Regions from separate parts of the Homo sapiens genome. Here region 2 is linked to region 1. Evidence: promoter capture Hi-C in 16 types of primary human blood cells and fetal thymus (Javierre and others, 2016). All regions are on one chromosome and are shown on one strand. Each heading gives the region's core, a stretch centred on a gene start or on the middle of the fragment in contact. The rest is flanking DNA. Distances are from core to core; before and after follow the strand shown.

Region 1 (2,700 bases), core at 37-2,536:
TGGGCGACAAAAGTTAAACTCCATCTTAAAAAAAAAAAAAAAAAAAAAGGCCGGGCACGGTGGCTCACTTCTGTAATCCCAACACCTTGGGAGGCCAAGGCGGGTGGATCACCTGAGGTCGGGAGTTCGAGACCAGCCTGACCAACATGAAGAAACCCCTCTACTAAACACACAAAATTAGCCGGGCGTGGTGGCGCATGCCTGCAATCCCAGCTACTCGGGAGGCTGAGGCAGGAGAATTGCTTGAACCCGGGAGGCGGACGTTGCGGTGAGCGGAGATCATGCCATTGCACTCCAGTCTGGGCAACAAGAGCGAAACTCCGTCTCCAAAAAACAAAACAAAACAACTAAATTTGAAGTGCAACAGTTTCTTCTCGTTTTTCCAGTTTTACAGAAAACCCAAAAGAAGGGCAGCTAAGGTGGATAATGATGCCTACCACGCACCCTAAGAGTAGGTAAAGGGGAAAAAATGAAATCCACGTGGGACTGCGAGTAGTTTTCGCCTTTTCCCGAAGACGCACACAATGCGCTTAGGTATACCTCGCGCAGAGGTCTCTGCAGAGAGGAAAGCCACCGTGAGAAGAGCGGGGAGCCCCCAGGCAAGAAGGCAGTGGCTTGTGTGTAGTGAACCGAAATGCGACACCAAGGAACTGCAACAGGATTCTCCTTTCCACTTGAAATGTGACTCCCAGCGAGACACCTACCCTTGACGCTCCCTGGACAGTGCGGCACGGTCGGGCCCACTAACCAAGGCAATTTGCGCCCGACCGAATCAGGTGCTTCAAAATCCCCCCTGGTGAGCCGCGCGTTAACCACACATAAAACAGTCAACGCAGAAGGAGCGAGAACGTTCGGCCGAAAAGCCCGGCACAGAGAAGGGAGGGGTGCTGAAAGCCGCGGACTGCAGCCGCTGGCCTGGCTGCCGCCCCGAAACAACGCCCACGCCCGGGAGAAGGGCAGGCTGGCGTCCAGGTAGGACTCCCTCAGGCCGCCCCGCCAGGGGCCGCGCCGAGCGGAGCGGCTGGACCCCAACCCTGCCGGCCGCCGCCGAGGTGCGCAGCCCGCAGCCCCACACCCACGGCCTTTGCAACACCCCAACCGTTGAACTGCGCCCCTACACGCCCGGCGTCTGCGGCTCCCAGGCCGGTGCCGATGACGTCAGACTTACGTCAGGCGTGACGCCACGGCTGGGAGGAGTGAGGACGGCGCGGGAGGGCGTTTCCGGAGCACGCGCCGGGCGGGGGCCGCTGACGTCGGGCTCAGGTGCGCGCGCCCGCCCGCACGGCCCAGTTGGCGGCGCGCACTCCAGGTGGCGGCCGGCTGCGGTGAGGGGACCGCCAGCGGCGAGCAGTCCCGGCGGCCCTGGGGTCTGCGGCCGGGGGCGCGGCGGGAGGGCGTCTGGGCCTGCGCTCACGTGACGGGCGGGGAGGTTTGTGTAGGGGCTGCGAGCCGGGTGGGCGCGGGCCCGGGAGCGCGAGGCTGACTGTCCGGCCCCACCCCTCGCGGGCCAGCCCTTCGCCGCGCGGAACCTTCCCTCGGGCAGGGGCCGGCCCCGCCGCTCACTTCCCGCGCCCGCTCGCCGCTGACCGGAGTTGTCTCCTCCTCCGCAGGGCCGCGGCCAGAGGGCTAGAATCCGCGCCTTCCGAGGGAGCCGCGCCCTGCGGGCCCCACCGTACCCGAGGGGATGGAGGGCTGCCCCCGAGGCCCCCGCGCGGCTCGCGGTCCCACGCCTGCCGGCCCGCGCTAGCTACTCGACTCGTGCGCTAAATTTATCCGTCACCCAGGCCTTGTCTCCCGAGTCATTGGCGTCGTGGTTCAAAAGAAATGGAAGAAAAGGAGCGATGTGACCGATTGTGTTCGGTCCTCCTGCTTTGAGGCCTGGCATTTGCAGAGGGAAACAGCAAGAAAATCGTGGGGATTTTGGAGGGGGGTGGGAGGGAAGGGTGGGGAAACGGAAACAAGGTCTTACATTTTATGTGTTTTTTTAAATTCTGCACTTTGACAGTGGTAGCAAAATAAAAGTAATCCAAAAGTTATTTTTCTATTGAGAAGAGAGAAGAGGTGGGTTTTATTTTTTTCCTTTTGATTCCAATCTTTTCTCCCAGTGACAAAGCATAAATCATGGACACCAGAGAATAAGGTGGACCTCAGGAATCCGGAAAAGACTGAGAAGCTTACATTCTTCCTCTAGAGGGAAGAGTGGGGTGTTTATAGCCATCTCTGGAACCTAAAACAAAAAACATGAGTTGTGTGCCATGGAAAGGAGACAAGGCCAAATCTGAATCATTGGAGCTGCCCCAGGCAGCACCCCCACAAATCTACCATGAGAAACAGCGCAGGGAGCTTTGTGCCCTCCACGCCCTCAATAACGTCTTCCAGGACAGCAATGCCTTCACCCGGGATACGCTGCAAGAGATTTTCCAGAGGTAGGGGACCCTTCTCCTTGGCATCTTGATACTGATATTTCTGGATTTCTGTGGGTGGGGCAGTGTCTCAGCTTCATAAACCTTCAAAGCTGTAGGTATTAGCTAGATTGCGTTAGCAGGTATAAGGGACACAAGACATGAAAAGATAATCACTACCATTTATCAGGCACTTACGGTGGGCTAGGAAAGTACTCATAGCCTCAGCTGTGTTTTCTTGAGTGATCTTCAACAGTCCCGTGGAATACGTGTTAATATGTGATGTTATTTCCATTTT
Region 2 (2,727 bases), core at 173-2,672, 850 kb after region 1:
TTCTTTAGGAGACATTAACATACAGAACTGCTGTAAGGATTAAACAAAATATTTCATACAAAGTACTTAGAACAATGGATAACACTGACTACTAAGTCAAGTCACTATAACGTTTCAGGAAACCTCAGACACCTCCTAAAAAGATTTCATTCGGGCTTGGTTTGAATTACTTAAATTTTTCACATCAAGATTTTCTTCCTTGGGGCAGGCGCGGTGGCTCACGCCTGTAATCCCAGCACTTTGGGAGGTTGGGGCGGGTGGATCACCTGAGGTCAGGAGTTCAAGACCAGCCTGGACAACACGGCGAAACCTCGTCTCTATTAAAAAAATTTAAAAATTAGCTGGGAATGGTGGTGGGCGCCTGTAATCCCAGCTACTCAGGAGGCTGAGACAAGAGAACTACTGCTTGAACGAGGGACGCGGAGGTTGCAGTGAGCCGAGATCGCACCACTGCACTCCAGCCTGGGGGACAGAGGGAAACTCCATCTCAAAAACAAAAACAAAAACAAAAACAAAAAAGCTTTTCTTATTTGGCTAATAGTTTACACAAGAAAACCATAGCCAGGTAAGTAATCCTTCTCTTCCAAGACTGAGGTGGACTATGATAAAAAGCCTGGTTTATTAGGCTTTATAAAACCCCTCGCACTGGCAGCTAATGACTGACTCCAAACCTGGACCATCAAAGAGCAATTTTTGATGCCTGTCAGAGCTGGTTCTAAGACATTCCAAAGGAACTGATCCCTACGAGTACTCAGCCAGCCTAACCCGTGGTCTCACCTGTGTGCATATCATAGTCGCTGGGATAAGCGTAGGGGTCATAAGCCGCCTAGAAGGAAAGAGACACAGTCAAGGACAGCCGCCAAGTCGTGAATTCAAAACGCTCATCCTAGAGTCTAGATGCCAAGCAGAGAGCTAAGGATACAGAGGCGAATAAGACACTGTGCCTGCCTTTGAGGAACTCACACGCCTTAGAGAAAAGGGACAGTAAACAGACAATGACAATACAACATTACGGGTGCAATGAGGTGGAGCAAAGGACAAGAGGCTGTGGGAATCAGCGAGATTTGACCAGACGGAGCCTAGACCAAAAAAACTCAGGTGCAGAAACACAGAAACGTCTAACAGGCCTTAGTCTCCGGTCTTAGAAAGGGGAAGGACAAGCCAATCGAACACGCGAAGTGGGCGGGCAGAGCCAGGGTTGTCTAGGGACCGGGAACTGTGGGAGCAGCCTGAGGGCCGGGCGGGAGGTCGGCCGGAGCTGGCCGCGACCCGGAAGCTGCCTCGCGCCGGGACCCACATCCAGTGGTCCCAGAGATCACCCCGTCGTGGAGCCCACCGCGCCCTTACGGCCACCTTACCTCAGACTCATAATCATCAGCGGGATAAGACATGGCTGCCTCGCTTGCGAGCACCGCCGGAAAGAGCGAAATGAGCGGCCCGCGCCTGCGTCCTGAGGCCGGAAGTTCAGCCCCACTCGGGCCTGCCGGGAAACCGGAAGCCTTTCCGAGGCCTCTGGCCATCTGAGACAGCCATATCCAGAAGGAAGAGGAGCCGCGTTCCGTGGCTCACACCTGTAACCCCACCAGTTTGGGAGGCCGAGGCGGGCGGATCACCTGAGGCTGAGGCCGGGGGTTTGAGACCAGCCTGACCAATATGGAGAAACCCCGTCTCTACTAAAAATACAAAATTAGCCGGGAGTGGTGGCGCATGCCTGTAATTCCAGCTACTCGGGAGGCTGAGGCAGGAGAGTCGCTTGAACCCGGGAGGCGGAGGTTGCGGTGAGCCGAGATCGCGCCATTGCACTCTAGCCTGGGCAACAAGAGGGAAAACTCCGTCTAAAAAGAATAAGAGGGTTACAAGTAGCCTGAATTTTCCTCTCTTCAAATAGGGACTTCTCAAAGAAGGTGAATCTATAATAGTGGTGTAGATTCAGATATAAGGACACGTATTTGGCGTAAAGGAGAGGCAAAGTTAGAGGAACCAGAAAGAATGCTACACAAAAGATGGCCGGCTTCTCGCGTGAAGGAAGATTCGGATACGGGGGCCTGATGGATTTAGTTGTAGGCGGTTTGCCTGCAGCGAGTAAATTATTCAAACGTTCGGACTTCACAAGACTAAACTTACTGGGGATAAAAATTGAGATTTGGCCGGGCGCGATGGCTCACGCCTGTAATCCCTACACTTTGGGAGGCCGAGGCGGGTGGATGATCTGAGATCAGGAGTTCGAGACCAGCCTGGCCGAAATGGCGAAACCCCGTCTCTATTAAAAATACAAAAATTAGCCGGGAGTGGTAGCGTCCGCCTGTAATCCCAGCTACTCAGGAGGCTGAAGCAGGAGAATCGGTGGAACCTGAGAGGCAGAGGCTGTAGTGAGCCGAGATCGCGCCACTGCACTCCAGCCTGGGCGACAGAGCAAGACTCCGTCTAAAAAAAAAAAGAAAAAAAAAAATTGAGATTTGGTCCCATGCAGTAAGAGGGAATGGAGAACAGGAGCCACCCAACTTTGGACATTAAAGTTGGAGCAGGCAAAGATGAGGCCAGCTGTGTCGCGAAGCCTGGGACATGGGCAGCTCTTGAGTACACCGGGTTCGAGGCCAGGGGAAACCCTCAAGGTAGAGATGGGGTTATAAAGCAAACCAATAAAAACCGGTGTATGAGTCAAGGAGAGGCCTTAGTTTAGCCATCTGCCCATACACAACACCTAGTGGAAATCCGAGTTCCAGTCCC

What was found. Contacts are between HindIII fragments. The CHiCAGO score rates a contact against its expected background, and 5 or more counts as called.
Region 2: a contact is called between the fragment with the promoter of EIF3L here and the fragment with the promoter of JOSD1 in region 1, in 2 of 17 cell types (M2 macrophages and erythroblasts). The highest score is 6.7, in M2 macrophages.

Annotation. Positions count from the first base shown.
Region 1 is chr22:38,699,529-38,702,228 of GRCh38, reverse strand. It overlaps JOSD1 (Josephin domain containing 1), which reads left to right and starts at 1,286. Exons shown (of 5, transcript NM_001360236.2): 1 at 1,286-1,429; 2 at 1,611-2,426. The coding sequence starts at 2,242. RefSeq lists a silencer at 820-1,779. The HindIII fragment of the contact is 4,284 bases long and covers 1-2,175 here.
Region 2 is chr22:37,848,114-37,850,840 of GRCh38, reverse strand. It overlaps EIF3L (eukaryotic translation initiation factor 3 subunit L), which reads right to left and starts at 1,422. Exons shown (of 13, transcript NM_016091.4): 1 at 1,359-1,422; 2 at 778-826. The coding sequence starts at 1,391. It also overlaps a transcript of ANKRD54 not described here. RefSeq lists enhancers at 736-1,257, 1,258-1,780, 1,781-2,303. The HindIII fragment of the contact is 2,543 bases long and covers 523-2,727 here.